4 separate regions of the Homo sapiens genome follow, and all the other regions are linked to region 4. Evidence: promoter capture Hi-C in human tissues and cell types (Jung and others, 2019). All regions are on one chromosome and are shown on one strand. Each heading gives the region's core, a stretch centred on a gene start or on the middle of the fragment in contact. The rest is flanking DNA. Distances are from core to core; before and after follow the strand shown.

Region 1 (2,700 bases), core at 1-2,500, 190 kb before region 4:
ACCTTAATTTTCAGCCACAGGCTGGACTGTCACCCAGCCGTGGTCCCAACTGGCCCAAGGCTCATGGGTGTCCGCAGAGGCCTTGCCTTCAAACCCCTCCTCCTCTCCCCAGTCCTCAGACTAAGCCCTTTCCCCAGTCCCCAGCCCCCAGCCCCAGGGCCCCCCATAGCCTTTGCCCAGGCTTACTGCAAGCTTGTCTGCAGGCTTCACCTTGACCTCACAGCAGCCCCGACTCTGCCTCTCTATCCCCAACCCCTTCCCGAGTGGGTCCTAAGGCCAAGAATACTCCCAGCCCACCTGAGGTTCTACTGACTCCATTTGACCAAGCCCCCAGAATCACACAGTATTCCCTTCTGGTCCTGACCCCACCTCCTTCCAGGCTTCAGTCTCTAAGGGTCCCACTCCAAACCCACTTACACCCCATTCTGCTCAGCTCCCCATCCGCGGGCTTCTCTGTCCCCGCCCCCTGCCTCAGGACCCGCCCAGGCCACGCCCACCACCCACCTGCCATACAGATACAGGTGAACTGGCCTATGCGGTCGAGGCACGTGGCCTGGTTTCGGCAGGGCCCCGACAGACACTCGTTGACATCGGTCTCACAGCGAGGTCCAGTGTAGCCACGACCGCACTGGCACAGGAAGGAGCCCTGCGTGTTCACGCACCTGCCCAAGTGCTCGCAGGGGTTGGCGCCTGCCGGATGGAGTGCGATCGGTGTGGGCGTGGCTGGCCGGGACCCCCTCCTCTCCCCTCTTTCCCAGCCCATTCACAGACGATGGAGCTCCCCTCACCGATAGAGCACTCGTCCACATCCTGGTCACATGCCCCACCCGTGAAGCCGGGAGGACAGGTGCAAATGGCCCGGCCGTTCACCGGATTTGTGTCACAGATAGCATCCTCGTGGCAGGGGTTGCTGACACAGGCGTCATCCAGGTGACACAGGAGGCCTGGGAAGTGGTAAGCAGAAGTCATAGGCAGATCTTCCTGCTCTGCCCAAAAGGCCCACACCCCTTGAGTATTGTTTTGTCGTTGTTGTTGTTTTGTTTTGTTTTTTGAGACGAAGTTTCGCTCTTGTTGCCCAAGCTGGAGTACAATAGCGCGATCTTGGCTCACTGTAACCTCCACCTCCCAGGTTCAAGCGATTCTCCTGCTCAGCCTCCCGAGTAGCTGGGATTACAGGCATGTGCCACCACGCCCGGCTAATTTTTTGTATTTTTAGTAGAAACGGGGTTTCACCAAGTTAGCCAGGTTGGTCTCAAACTCCTGACCTCAGGTGATCTGCCTGCCTCAGCCTCCCAAAGTGCTGGGATTACAGGCGTGAGCCACCGCGCCCGGCCTGTTGTTTTTATTAAACCTAAACAGTATTTAGTAGCTGCTTTTTTAATCCATTTATTATGAGAACTATCAAACATACAGAAAAGTTGACCATTCATATACCCACCACCTAGATTCAACTATTGTTAGCTTAATCTACCAATCTTCTTTTCTAAACCATTTAAAAATAAATTGCAGACCGGGCACAGTGGCTCACGTCTATAATCCTAGCACTTTGGGAGGCCAAGGTGAGTGCATCGCTTGAGTTCAAGAGTTCAAGACCAGCCTGGGCAATATAGTGAGACCCGTCTCTACAAAAAATACAAAGCTTAGCCGGGCATGGTGGCGCACGCCTGTAATCCCAGCTACTTGGGGGACTGAGGTGGGAGGATCACTTGAGCCCAGGAAGTCGAGGCTGCAGTGAGCTGAGATCATGCCACTGTACTCCAGCCTGGGTGACAAAGTGAGACTCTGTCTCAAAAATAAAATAAAATAAATTGCAAACATCCACATATTGTTTTAAAACCTTTTGACTCTTCTGATTACAAAAGGGTCCTACACTCCAGCCTTTGCTTCTGTAATACCCTCTGCCATGTATGCCCTCTTTCTATATCCACGTTCCCCTCCTAAACATGTTCTCTGATCTTTGCCACTTCCAAAGGTAACTCCCAGGAGTTCCCCATTCCAATGGCTTCTGCCCTGAGCCATGCATCAGTGCAATGTCAGCCTCCTCCCAAGCCTCTCCCAGGCTTACACTTCCCCACTAAAGCTGCCTCCAGCATCATCTTTTTTTCTCTCTCTTTTTTGTTATACACGGTCTTACACTGTCTCCCAGGCTGGAACGCAGTGGCTCAGTCTCAGCTCACTGCAACCTCCACCTTCTGGGCTCAAGCCATCCTTCAACCTTAGCATCCAGAGTAGCTGGGACTACAGGCATGCGCTACCATGCCCAGCTAATTTTTTGTATTTTTGGTAGAGATAGGGTTTTGCCATGTTGCCCAGGCTGGTCTCAAACTGCTGAGCTCAAGCAATCTACCCGCCTGGGCCTCCCAATGTGTTGGGGTTACAGGCGTGAGCCACCACACCCAGCCTACCAAGTTTTTGTAGAGATGACAAAAACTCACTATGTTGTCCAGGCTGGTCTCAAAGTCCTGGGCCCAAGCGATCCTCCCATCTTGGCCTCCCAAAGTGCTGGGATTACAGGCATGAGCCACTGTGCCCGGCCTAGCATAATCTTTTTTTTATTTTTTAAATTTGAGAAGGAGTCTCACTCTGTCACCCAGGCTAGAGTGCAGTGGTGCAATCTTGGCTCACTGCAATCTCCACCTCCTGGGTTCAAGCTACTCTCGTGCCTTAGCCTCCTGAGAGACTTGGATTACAGGTGTGCAC
Region 2 (4,508 bases), core at 738-3,237, 130 kb after region 4:
TATGCATAGGGAGATGGAGGCTCAGAGCAGCCATGTGACTAGCTCAAGGCCACACATCCACGAAGCCCACTCTTAGTGCTCCAGGCCCTTTCACTTACTCCTCCTTCCTGGTCTCCAGCTCTTTGAGAGCAGAGAAGCCAGGCAGATGGCTTCTTTTCCTTCTCTCTTCCCTAGAACCCCGTATTTAGCCAGTGGTCAGTGGAGATGACCTCCGGGACCTCATCCTTAACCCCTTCCTGGGTCTCAGCTACCCCCACCCTTTGTCTCTGTCCCCTGCAGCCACTGGAGGGGTCCCTCTCAAACTTCACTCTATGTGGATCTCTGCATTTTCCAAAGTGCTTCTAGTAAGCTCCCCCTTGGCCAGAATTACTGGCAAAACAAAATTCATATCCCTAAAAAATAGGCTTTCATGCTGCGTTAATTATGAATAAAAAATTAATAAAATAAGCTCTTCCTCAGAAGTAAAAAAGATTAAAGACACAAATAAATATAAATATTTTTTTTTAAAAGTTCTAGGAGCTGGGAGAATGGCTTGAGCCCAGGAGTTTGAGACCAGCCTGGGCAACATAGTGAGACCCTGTCTCTAAAAAAATGAAAAAAAAAAATTAGCTGGGTGTGGTGGCACGTGTCTGTAGTCCCAACTACCCAGGAGGCTGAGGCAGGAGGATGGCTTGAGCCCAGGAGTCACCCCAGCCTGGATGACAGAGTGAGACCAATCAACTAACAGGGGGCACCTCCCCTACTCAAGCACCATCCATGGCTCCCCACTGCCCACCAGATCAAGATCCAGCCATTCAAACTGGCCTTCACAGTCAACTCCTGCATCCCTCCAGCCTCCACACCTCTCACACTCCAAGGCCAGGGAAAGCCATCTGCTAAGTCACACCCTCCAGTTTCTCTGTGCTTGAGCTCTACCCCCTCTCCTGCACTTGTTGAAATCCAACCTCTCCATGCAGTCCCAGCTCAAGTGTCACATCCTCCACGTCGCCTTCCCTGACCTCATGTCTGCCTCCTCCAAGCAGCAAAACTTCAATTACTTGTGTCTCCTCTTCTTCACCAGGAGACATGCCCCACACCTCCCACGCCCTCTTTCCAAGGGCCCAGCACCAAATGAGAGCGTATTCTTAGAAAAAAGAGGGATAAGGAAGTCTTCTAAGTTTACCACCTGCTGGGGCAAGTGGAGATTCTTGTCTTCTCATCTGTCTGCCCACGTGCTAAGGTCAGCCACACATCCACCCACCGACTCCGGAGGACAGACACATCCAGAGGCGGAGCTGACTCTGTCTCCACACATCTGGAGTAGACGGGTTGGCCAAGGACAACATCCTGGTCAGAGGGTCAAGGTGTCTGGCAGTGGGTGGGGAGGAGTGGCGGAGGGCGGGTTGGCGGGGAGCAGAACCAGTCTGGTGCTGCTTGTTGAGGTTGGAGGTCTTCCTGGAGGAAGAGGCTGCAGAGCCTCCAGGGGTGGGTGCCGGGGAAGCTTAGGCCCAGGATCCAGAGAGAGGGGAAGGGCTGGTTCCCAAGGGCTGGTGGAGCCAGAGAATTCCTGAGGGCCCCAGAGGAGGCTTCTCGGGGGGGTCAGTGGGGCCCCAGGGGGTGATGGTTTAGAGATCGCTGTCCAAGCTTGGGAGCAAACCTGGAAGTAAGGGCCATGGGGGGTGTTGGTGTGGGAGGAGTGTGGTCCAGAGCGGGACTTGGGCGCTAATGCGGCCCAGCAGTGGCAGGAGGGCGGGGAGCCTGATGGTTTGGGACTTCTAGGTGTCCAAGTCTCTGTCTCTCTTCATCTCTCCATCTCAGTCTCAGTCTCTCTCTCTTTCCATCGCTCTCCACCCCTCCACACGCCTATTTCTTGTTCTCTCCTTTTCTAGGGGGCAGCGCTGGAGTCCCCGCCCAGAACCCTGCGGGAGCCCGGGGCGGGATGTCCGGGGGCGGACCCCTCGGCACGGCCGGGCGGGGTTAAAGGGTTGGGCCGTGGGACGGCGCGGTCAGATCCCAGGTAGTGGCGCCGGTGGATCCGGATCGAGGGCAGGAGGCTGAGACCCGCGGGTGAGTGCGCGCGTGGTGAGGGCTGTAACCTGAGCGCGGCCGCGGCGCTGCGCTGGAACCCGAGGCTCGCGCGGTTCGGTGCTGGCGGGGCAAGGGCGAAGGTCTGCGCGCGGCGGCGGGCGGGGCGCAGCCGGCCACGGGGACCCCCCCAGGACCCAGGACGGGGCTGCATGCCCGGGGCACTCGTGGGGAGAGGGGCACGTGGGTGTGTCCCCGACGTTTGCTGCATTTGTGAGTTGTTTTCTTTTTTTTTTTTTCTGTGTGCGCCTCGGAGTCCTAGGCGCATCCTTTTCTCTGGGTATCTGTGATGGGCAGGGGGCCTCCAAAAGACCCCTCTGGTAGTCAGGACATCCCAGATGGGTTCAAGCCCCGCCCTGGGACGCCTCTTTGGGGCTGAATGGGGATTCGCCCTGAGATTTCACCACTGCACGTTGTCTTGACGGGGAGGTTGTAGTACATTCAACCGATGGGGTTAGGCTTGTGGTTCAACTGCTATCAGGAACCCTCTGCCCATCCATGCCAGACGCAGAGCCCCTCTATGAAAAGACGGTGTTCTTCTGGCCCCGAGAGTTGGCTCTGAGGGTTGTGTGAGGTCCTGGGGTTGGTCCCAGGTGATCTTCGTCTGATAGATGCTGGAAGGAAGATGTTTTCTGGCCTCCCAGGGGCCTGGCCCAGCCTGGGTATGCAAGTTGGCCGAGGCTGGCCACCTGGGGAGTCGCAGGCTGGAGAGGCCTAGGCTCAGGGCATCTCTCCTGGTTCATCTGCCCGCTCACAGCTCATTCATGCACTCATTGTGAGTCTCACCGCCCTGTAGGCAAAGGAGATGGCCAGGGCTGGCTGCGTACCCGAAATTCCTCCTACCCTGTGCCCCTTGCTCCACCCCTTATTTCTAGGTCCTGGAGCTGTGCCCAGCCAGGGCTGGCAGCATCAAACTCCTTCTTGTGTAACTCCAAACCCCAAAGAGAAGGAACCTCCCCAAATCTTCCCTACCACCCTCATTTTACAGGCACGGAAACTGAGGGCCAGAGAGAAGAAGCCTGTGCCTGTGGATACCCAGTGCCCAGTGGGAGAGCTGGGATTTGAAAAAACAAGCCCTGTTTGACCCCAAAGCCTCAGTCCACTTTCCGATGTCCCCGGCATCACCAAATGGCCCAGCTTGGGTTTCTGAACAGTAACATTAACTCTGGCCTGGTGTCTGGCGGTGACCCAGGTTGGTATCTGCAGAGGGGCTTGGATGACTTGAGAGGCATTCAGGGAATGGGACCCATCTCTCCTTCCTTCCTTCCTTCCTTCCTTCCTTCCTTCCTTCCTTCCTTCCTTCCTTTCTTTCTTTCCTTCCTTCTTTCTTTCTTTCTTTCTTTCTTTTCTCTGTCTCTCTCTCTTTCTTTCTTTCTTTCTTTTTTTGTTGTTGTTGTTGAGACAGGGTCTCACTTTGTCACCCAGGCAGGAGTGCAGTGGCATAATCATAGCTCACTGCAGCCTCGATCTCCTGGGTTCAAGCAATCCTCCTACCTCAGCCTCCTGAGTATGGAGGACTACAGGCATGCACCACCACTCCTGTCTACTTTTTGTATTTTTGGTAGGGATGGGGTTTCACCATGTTGCCCAGGCTGGTCTTGAACTCTTGGGCTCAAGTGATCCACCCGCCTCAGCCTCCCAAAGTGCTGGGATTACAGGCATGAGCCACTGCGCCTGACTCATCTCTCCTTGTTGATAAAACTTGGACCTGATTCTCCAAACCCCAGATGGCCAGGTCACAATAATGAACGTGATGGCAGCACCAACGGTAATGAGAGATATCATTGATCAAAGGCTTACTATGTGCCTGGAAGATTGCAGCCCCATGAGGTGGGTAAATAGGGCTTCTGTCTTAATGGATGAAGAAATTGAGGCTCAGAGAGGTGCAGACACTCACCCGAGGTCGCACAGCAAAGAGGCAGACCTTTATAGAATCTTTTCTGAGGCTCATGTCCAGGTGTGGCCACACTTGGGATGGTGGGCAGAAACAATTACAACCCTGCAATGGTCTAGATTATTAGTGGTTTTAAAACTTCTTTTTCTGCCAGGATCCCCTTTGGGCCAAGGAAATTATTAGCAAAAGGTTTGAATATGATCAAAGCTGCGATAGGACTGTCTCCTTTACCACATTTGCCAACTTGGCCCTGCCCTCATTAGTCATAAATGACTCTGAAGCTCTTTCTCAGAACCTTAGAAATTTAGAGTGCTGAGTGGAGACTGAAGACCTAGAAGCCAGGCTGAGTGTGGTGGCTCATGCCTGTAATCCCAGCACTTTGGGAGGCTAAGGCTGGAGGATGGTTTGAGCCCAGGACTTTGAGACCAGCCTGGGGAATATAGGGATACCATATATATATATATATATATATTTTTTTTTTTTTTTTTGAGATGGAGTTTTGCTCTTGTTGCCCAGGCTGGAGTGTAATGGCGTGATCTTGGCTCACTGC
Region 3 (3,934 bases), core at 415-2,914, 230 kb before region 4:
GACCTCAGGTGATCTGCCTGCCTTGGCCTCCAAAAGTGCTGGGATTACAGACATGAGCCACCACACTCAGCCGGTCTCTAACTTCTTATGAGGACGCCTGGGATTCTTATTCTCTGCTCTGCACTGCTTGAGAGGCAGAGTATAGCAGGTTTAATTTGCTCACATTCTCAGTCCTGGCATCAGGATTGGAACCCAGGAGTCTGTCTCTGGAGGCTGTGCTTTCAGGAGTGTGAGTTTCAGCGACTCACCTTTCATTACACACATCTTCATGAACAGCTCCTCTGTGACAGGTGCTTCTGAGGGCATGAGGACACAGCAGGGAACTAAATGGGCAGAGATACCTGCCCTGGAGGAGCAGAAGGTACTAAGGGAGGCAGCCGCGCAATCAGCCACAAACAGGATAACTCAACAAGTGAGTTACATCAGAGCTAAGTGCTAGAAACAGAAAAGAGGACCTAAAGGGAGAATTGAGAAATCAGGGGAGAGTTGCCATTGTTAATGGGATGGTCAGAAAAGTCCTTGTTGATGTTTAATCACGGTCAGCTCAGAATTTCTCCTTCCTCGACTGCCCCAATTTTCTGATCTCAGCTCTAGGCTAGAGATGGATCAGCGTGGCTTCTCCAGCCAGGCAAAGACCCCGAATTCACAATTGAAAAAGAATGAGGGAATGAGTCAAGACGGAGGAGAGCATTCCAATTTCTCCTTCCTTGACTGCCCCAATTTTCTGATCTCAGCTCTAGGCTAGAGATGGATCAGCGTGGCTTCTCCAGCCAGGCAAAGACCCCAAATTCACAATTGAAAAAGAATGAGGGAATGAGTCAAGACGGAGGAGAGCATTCCAGGTAGAGGCAACACCCTGTGGCTGCACCATGCCTGGTACAGGAGCAGCAAGGAGGAATAGTGAGGGAGAGACAGTGAGGGAGAGGGAGCAGGTAAGCACAGGGAGGGGACAGAGGGATGTTGTGTAGGCCTTGTAGATCAAGGGGAGGACTTGGCATTTACTCCTAATGAGGTGGGACTATGGAGGGGTCTAAGCAGAAGAGGGACATCCCCAGGCTCAGGTGTTCCCAGACGCCCTCTGGTGGCTATGGGAAAACTGTGCGTGAGGCATTGGACACAGCAGGTTAAGAGGTGACTAGGCTGGTCCAGGCCGATGATAATGGGATCAGTGTGGACCACGTGGGCCATTGGAAGTGGGCTTGCCATGGTGGGCACATGGAGGTGGTGAGGACTTGCCCATCTGGATGGGTTGTGAAGGTGAAGCCCAATGAATTTTTTGATGGGTTAGAAGTGAGTTTAGAGACAGGCCGGGCATGGTGACTCATGCCTGTAATCCCAGCACTTTGGGAGGCCAAGGCAGGCAGATCACTTGAGATCAGGTGTTCAAGACCAGCCTGGCCAACATGGTGAAACCCTGTCTCTACTAAAAATACAAAAATTAGCTGGGTGTGGTGGCACATGCCTGTAATCCCAGCTACTTGGGAGGCTAAGGCAGGAGAATCGCTTCAACCCGGGAGGCGGAGGTTGCGGTGAGCTGAGATTATGGCACTACACTCCAACCTGGGCAAGAGAGTGAGACTCCATCTCAAAAAAATTAAATAAATAAACAAATAAGTCAGGTGCAGTGGTGTGCTCCTGTGGTCCCCGCTACTTTGGAGGCTGAGGTGGAAGAACTGCTTGAGCCTAGGAGGTTGAGGCTGCAGTGAGCTGTGATCATGCCACTACACTCCAGCCTGGGCAACACAGCGAGATCTTGTCTCAAAAGAAAAAAAAAAAACCTTAACCATTTCCATTCATTCATGTATTCATTGAACAAATATTTAAATATTTTTAATTAAAAATTTTTTTTGGCTGGGCATAGTGACTCACGCCTGTAATCCCAGCACTTTGGGAAGCCAAGGTGGGTGGATCACCTGAGGTCAGGAGTTCAAGACCAGCCTGTCCATCATAGTGGAACCTCGTCTCTACCAAAAATACAAAAATTAGCCGGGTGTGGTGGCACACACCTGTAATCCCAGCTACTTGGGAGGCTGAAGCAGGAGAATCACTTGAACCCAGGAGGCGGAGTTTGTAGTGAGCTGAGATCGCACCATTGCACTCCAGCCTGGGCAACAAGCGTGAGACTCTGTCTCAAAAAAAAAAAAAATTTATTGTTTTAAAAACAGAAATAGGCTCAAAGAAAGAGCTGGTGGAGGAGCTGGCAGAGTCACACTGGGGGATAGGGGCAGGGCCAGCCCAGCTGGAGTTCAGCGAGGACTCTGTCCATCTCAGGATTGCTGGGGGTGGGGACCCACAGTGTCTAGAGCTCTCAAACCGACAACCTGGCCCCTCTCCGCTCTCATCTTGGAGGTGGCGTCTGCCCCAACCCCCTGCACCCACCCCAGACAGAAGGAAGAAGAAAGGAGGAAATCCCAAATGTGGCTGAACATTAACTCTGCAACAGCTGAGGAGCTGTGACTGAGTTTGCTGCAATGTGTCCAGATTCCAGGCCTGACCCAAAAAGAGGTCAATTCACAGGAGTAGAATATTCCTTATTTGCCTACCTGGAACCCATGAAAATTGCACCCATTGAGAGCGCCCAGGCTGGTTGCTTGCTTAGTGAGAGAGTTACAGGGAACCAGTTGGTGCTGAGTTCAAGGACCAAGCCAATGCCACCTCCACAGTGCAGGGGAGAGGGGACCAGGTGACACTCCTGAGAGCTGTCTGGAGCCGGGAAGCTGAGGAATGCATGGGACTGGGGTCTGGAGTCTTTCCTTTTCCTCTTTCTTCTCATCAGGAAGACCCCCAAAGGCCCTTCTCCGCCCCTTTCAGCCCCACCCTAAATGACTCTGTGTGTGTGTGTGTGCGCGCGCACTCATGAGACTCTAGGGCACATGCGTGTCCACACCCCATATCTTCCCTGTCTGCTTGCACACCTGTTCACACCATGATGCAGTGTCTGCATGTGTGTGACTTTTCAAGGGTCTCTTTTGGTTCCCCCAGATGCGCCTCCTTGCCTTTCTGGGAAAATCTTATATTCTTCTCCAGCCCATGCTTTGTAGTTGGCAAAAAACAGATCGAACACCTTTCTGGGAAACTCCATTCAAGTGTGTCACTGCTTAGCCTTTTCTGGGTTAGCATAGTCCCTCTACAGTTTCTCTCTCTCCCCACTTATTTGTAGATCTGAACCTTAAGGCCAGGGATGGGCCGGGGTGGCTCCTTCAGCCAGGAAAAGCCTCTGAATTCACACTCACCATTGCCAAGGGAGGCTCCTGCAGTGCCTGCTGGCATCGCTCTGTTCACCACCTAAAAAGGGAGGGGCTGAGGACACAGCTCCTGTTATGCTGAGGGTCCCCAGAGCTGCCATCCCACAGGCCCCCTGAACACTAAGAAGTCCCACGGAGCTCAGGCAGGTGGCACCCTGAGGGGATTTTCCCTCCAGGAAACTCAAGACCCCTGGGTCAGCTTCCTAAGCCCACAGACCCTGCATGCACAGAGCGGGAAAAGGACTAATTACTATTTCTTTTTGTGGATAACAAGCAGAAATTCATTAATGAATGGCAGAGCATTCATTCATGCTCCTAGTACCCACCTGCGCTAGGCAAGGCTGCTTCCTGAGGAAATGCACCCCCAGGCCCTGCCCTCAAGAGAGGGAGGAAGGAGTGGATCATTTGATGTTGTTCTACCAATGTTGCCCAGGTTTAACATCTCTTGGTGACCTCAGCCTTCTCCATCCCTCCTTCCCTAGACCATTAATTACCAAATCAGCATTCTTCCTCCCAAAATTCTCTCTATCCCCTCACCTCCACCCCAACTCAGGACTGCATTATTCTTACCTGTTGCAAGAACCTGCAGTGTCAACTCCCTCCAGTCTGACCTCTGCACTGACCCCAGGACAGAAAACTCAAGCTGTGCTCCTCCTCTACGCAAGCACCTTCCATGGCTCCCCATTGCT
Region 4 (4,209 bases), core at 291-2,790:
GCATCCGTGCAGCAGAAAGGCAGACTGCAGATTCCAACAGCAAGTAACCAACCTCGAGAGACTGCTTCTCTGTGAAGCTCTAGTGTAAGTGGCACGCACTATTAACCTTAAAACGCTCCCGGAAACACAAGAAATCAGGGAAGCTTAACTATCTCCAGTGTGTCTGAAAGGTTTTCGGCAGGTAGGAAGAGGGGGTAAAAAAAACCTCTCCAAACTAAGAATGAAAAGAAGGAATACAATACCTGCAGAAAAGATCTGATGGGAAAGAAGGGAAAGAATGGTGAAATCTACCCAGGCTGCGGAAGACCAGGAGAGCCAGGCTGAGCCTTCGCTAGGACCCGGAAGACACCAAAGCACACCGCGCACGCTGCCGCCTCAGGACCGAAACCTCTCTCTGCAATTTCTGGTGCTGGGATACTTTTGCCCTGCCACTTCTCAAGATCGACAACTTCTCGAGCTCCTGCAGCCAGGATCAGACCACTAGCTTCTCTACAACCAGTCGAGCTCCACCCAGCATGTCCCAACTATCCCCTGTGGGCAAACTTTGCTCCCAAAAGGCTCTGATTCCAGAAGCAGGGAGCAGGCAGCTCGAGAAGATCGGCCCTACTGCAGGCCAAGCGCTAAATCCTAGTGGGGAAAGGACACGTTCCCTCCTGCACAGCCCCTCGGCCCCTCCAGGCCACCACAACAGACTGCCTAAAGGAGAACTGCCAATGTCACCAGCCCCAGGGCACATCAGGTTTCCAGCTTTATACGAACACTCAGCATCTGCCCCTCACCATCCTGTCCCAAGCCAGCACGCGCCGGGTACAGAGCTGGAGCCCGGCGAGGCTGACTCTCGCGCCGGCAGCACTCGGCCCCACCGCGCTGCACCGGGGACTAAAGGCCCGACCCCGCGCAGCCCGACGGCTTCCGGGACAGGCGCCCTGGGCCACGTGAGCCCAGCGGAGACCCTACACGGCCCCGCGGGCCTAGGGCAGGTCGGGAGAGAGGCGGCCCCCGCGGTCCGCCCGCGGCCCCAGACCCAGCTCCCCGGGTCCGACCTCACAACCCCACGCTGTAGCTCCGCCCCCCTAGCGCCGCCATTTTGTGGCGTCTTCGGAAGAGGAAGCCGGGAGTGCAAACCCCGGGGTCGCTGGGGGCCGGAAGGACTCCGCCGAAGGTGAGGGGCAAAAACGGCCCACACTGTCTAAGACGCCCCCACGAAGCCCACCGCGGCGTCTGCCCCAACCCCGAGTCCCGCCCGCCTCCTCGGGGCCTGGCGGCCAATCCGCACGCAGAGCCCCGGGAGCGACGGCGCCAAAGCCCAATGAGCGGCGCGCGCGCGCCCTGGCCGCCTCTCCGGAGGGCCCAGCTGGGGCAACCACGCTCGGGACGAAGGCCCGGCCGGCGGCAGTCTGCGCAGCGGCTGCGTCGCCCGCACAGAGCCTTCCCTCCCCGCTCCGCACCCAGCAGCCAACACAAACCTCCGTAGCCCTGGTCCATGTCTTCGACGCGGCCCACCAGCAGCCCCGTTTACTAGGCGACCACAGCACGCATGCGTTCAGCGCACCTCCGCCATCGACTACTGGAAGACCAGGCGCACACGTCACTACTTCCGCGCGCCCCCATTGGCTGGTCTTCACGAGGGCCCGCCCTCGCCGTCCCAGCTGGCCTTTCGGGCTGCTACGATCCAGCTCCGTGGCCTAATGGGAGTTGTGGTCCCACCGCGGTGCCCGACGGCCCGGCCCGCGCGCATGCGCACCCCGCCCCTCTGCCCACCCCGCCCCGCCCGCGCGGCACAGTAACAGAGAAACCCGGAGGTGGGATGGGAAAACTTTATTAGGTTTGGTTTCCAGCTTCGGCCACGCGGGCTCCGCCCGCCCCGAGCTCGGGTCACGGGGCGCCCCCGCCGCCCTCCTCGTCGTCCTCCACGTCGAGGCCCGGGATGCCGCGGATCTGGCGTTGCAGCGCCCCTCCCAGCAAGGGCACGGCGCCCTCCTCCTCCTCCTCTGGGGGCGGCGGCGGTGGCGGCGACACGGCCCCGGGGGCTGGCTCTGGGGGCACGGGAGGCTGCGCCGGCACGCCCTCTGCGCCCTCCGAGATCCCTGCCGCTTCGCCCTGCGCCCCCTCGTCCAGGGCACCGCCCTCAGCCTCCTCCTGCTCCTTCTCCTCCTCGGGGCTGTCGGTGAAAGGGTTCTCGCCCTGTGGGGAGGGGCGCGGACACTGAAGGGAGGGAGCACAGGCGGGGACTAAGCTGGGGACAGGGCAGGCCCGGACCAGTGCCTCACCTTCAGGTAGCGCTCCAGCTTCTTGCTGATGAGCTTGTTGTTGAGAATACTGCGGGCCACCATGAGGGAGGACTTCTTGGACTGCTCCATCATGAGCTGCGGGCAGGGCAGAAGGAGCTGGAGAGGCTGCTCTGAGTGCCCTACAAGTTGCTGCCCCGACCCTGCCAGCTTAGAGGGACCCCACCCCGCCCCTGCACCCACGCACTTCCAGCCCCACCAACGGAGGGCCACTCCACAAGCATGGAACCACAACCTATCTGATCTTTGTTCAAATTCCCTCTCCTTCCACACCACACTTACTGTAGGTAAATAAAAATACAGATCTATATATCTCTAACTTTACGGCTGTATTACAGAAATCTGATTTGCTTACAAAAAAGCTATAAGCAGTGAACAATTAAGAAACTAAGAGCCAAAGGTGGGTGCAACCTGTAACAAGGTGCCAACTAGGCTAATAGGCAAGGAGCACTTTGGGGCCAACGGGGAAGATATAAAAACAGGAACAGATATTTAATGAAACGTCTTTTTTAACCCACAGAATTCCAAGAATGAAGAATTATTCCCAGTCATGCAAGGGTGAAGAGAGTCTTCTCTGCTGGTGGGAGGATCAACTGTTTCCGTATTTTTTGGAAAGCAGTTTGACACAATGTATGAAAAGTAAAAATCTGTCTCATTAATCCCTTCCCAGAACGTATCCTAAATTTAAGAACTGGAAACATGCGTGCACACTGATTGTAGTGGTGAAAAATGGGAAAACACCTAAACGTTCCTCAGTGCAGAAGAGGTTAAATAAATCGTACATTCAAAAGAACATCATGCAGCCCTTCAAATCGGGCTCATCTCTGCACTGGCATAAGAAAGGTGTATAATATAGTACTGTCTGCAGAGCATGCCAGAGCCATTTTGTCTGGAAGGATTTCCATCAATATGCTGGGCCATCTCATGGTGGGAGTACAGGCAAATCTCACTTTGATCATTATAAAAACCATAAGGTAAAAGAAGGATATTTTTGGTGGGGTGGGAGAGCCCATTGAGTCCTTCCCACTCCATTTACATGTTTCAGAAAGCCTTCTCACTTGCTGTTTCTACTCTCTCCATCTTCATTTTTTTTTTTCCTTAGCACGTTTTCTCTACTACTGGAGGAAAATATTAACAGACATCATACATGCTCACAATAAACTAAAGATACACAATTAGGATACTACTATAGACCGTTCCCCCAGTGACTCTCACTTGCCAACAGTTTATCCTCCTGGTTCTAGATGCCCAGATAACCACACCATAAATTCTCCCAAGTGAGGCACATTTATGTTGCTTCCAGATCTTCTCCACAATAACCCAGCAACACTAGAATAAACTTGTACACTTCCATGCTGGTGCTTTTCATTCTAACCAGGTTTGGTTTCAAAGTGATAGTGCCCAATTAACTGCAGAACATTTGCAAGTCATGCTTCTTCCACCTGTGTTAAAACAATGACCTGGTCCTCCTGCCTGCCCATCAGCACTGGATGTTGTCACTGTTGGGTATTTTTGCTGTGGATAAAAGACAGAAGAATCTGTGCTGCTGCCTCCCACGGCATTTCCCTGCCCACCGGCGAGTGAGTGCTCTGGTAAGCACACTGGAACACCCGCCCACAGTTTATAATTTTCTAACTATTTTCTGATCTTGGTTTTCATTTTTCACATTTAAATTTTTTTTTTTTTTTTTTAAGACAGTCTCGCTCTGTCGCCCAGGCTGGAGTGCAGGGGCTCTCAGTTCACTGCAACCTCCGCCTCCCAGGTTTAGGCAATTCTCATGCCTCAGCCTCCTGAGTAGCTAGGACTACGGGCACGCACCACCACACCCAGCTACTTTTTTGTATTTTTAGTAGATACAGGGTTTTCCTATGTTGCCCAGACTGGTCTTGAGCTCCTGAGCTCAGGACCTCCACCCATCTCG

Evidence for each region. The method cuts DNA at HindIII sites, captures the fragments that hold promoters and counts their contacts. A contact is called where the count stands out against the background at its distance.
Region 1: a contact is called between a fragment that was not itself captured here and the fragment with the promoter of AKAP8 in region 4, in 2 of the 25 tissues and cell types used here (H1 embryonic stem cells and spleen).
Region 2: a contact is called between the fragment with the promoter of CYP4F22 here and the fragment with the promoter of AKAP8 in region 4, in 1 of the 25 tissues and cell types used here (adrenal gland).
Region 3: a contact is called between a fragment that was not itself captured here and the fragment with the promoter of AKAP8 in region 4, in 1 of the 25 tissues and cell types used here (pancreas).

What each region holds. Positions count from the first base shown.
Region 1 is chr19:15,188,485-15,191,184 of GRCh38, forward strand. NOTCH3 (notch receptor 3) reads right to left here. Exons shown (of 33, transcript NM_000435.3): 7 at 789-944; 8 at 505-690. Among named protein-coding and RNA genes, the nearest start is that of MIR6795, 10 kb to the left of the region's middle. The HindIII fragment of the contact is 6,552 bases long and covers 1-2,700 here.
Region 2 is chr19:15,506,538-15,511,045 of GRCh38, forward strand. CYP4F22 (cytochrome P450 family 4 subfamily F member 22) reads left to right here and starts at 1,988. Exons shown (of 14, transcript NM_173483.4): 1 at 1,988-2,046. RefSeq lists an enhancer at 1,632-2,132. The HindIII fragment of the contact is 20,579 bases long and covers 1-4,508 here.
Region 3 is chr19:15,149,532-15,153,465 of GRCh38, forward strand. No RefSeq gene overlaps it. Among named protein-coding and RNA genes, the nearest start is that of HACL2, 26 kb to the left of the region's middle. The HindIII fragment of the contact is 9,854 bases long and covers 1-3,934 here.
Region 4 is chr19:15,378,247-15,382,455 of GRCh38, forward strand. AKAP8 (A-kinase anchoring protein 8) reads right to left here and starts at 1,541. Exons shown (of 14, transcript NM_005858.4): 1 at 1,467-1,541. The coding sequence starts at 1,485. AKAP8L (A-kinase anchoring protein 8 like) reads right to left here. Exons shown (of 14, transcript NM_014371.4): 13 at 2,271-2,366; 14 at 1,804-2,184. The coding sequence ends at 1,876. RefSeq lists enhancers at 682-1,597, 1,532-1,826, 1,598-2,512 and silencers at 787-1,336, 1,677-2,166. The HindIII fragment of the contact is 19,214 bases long and covers 1-4,209 here.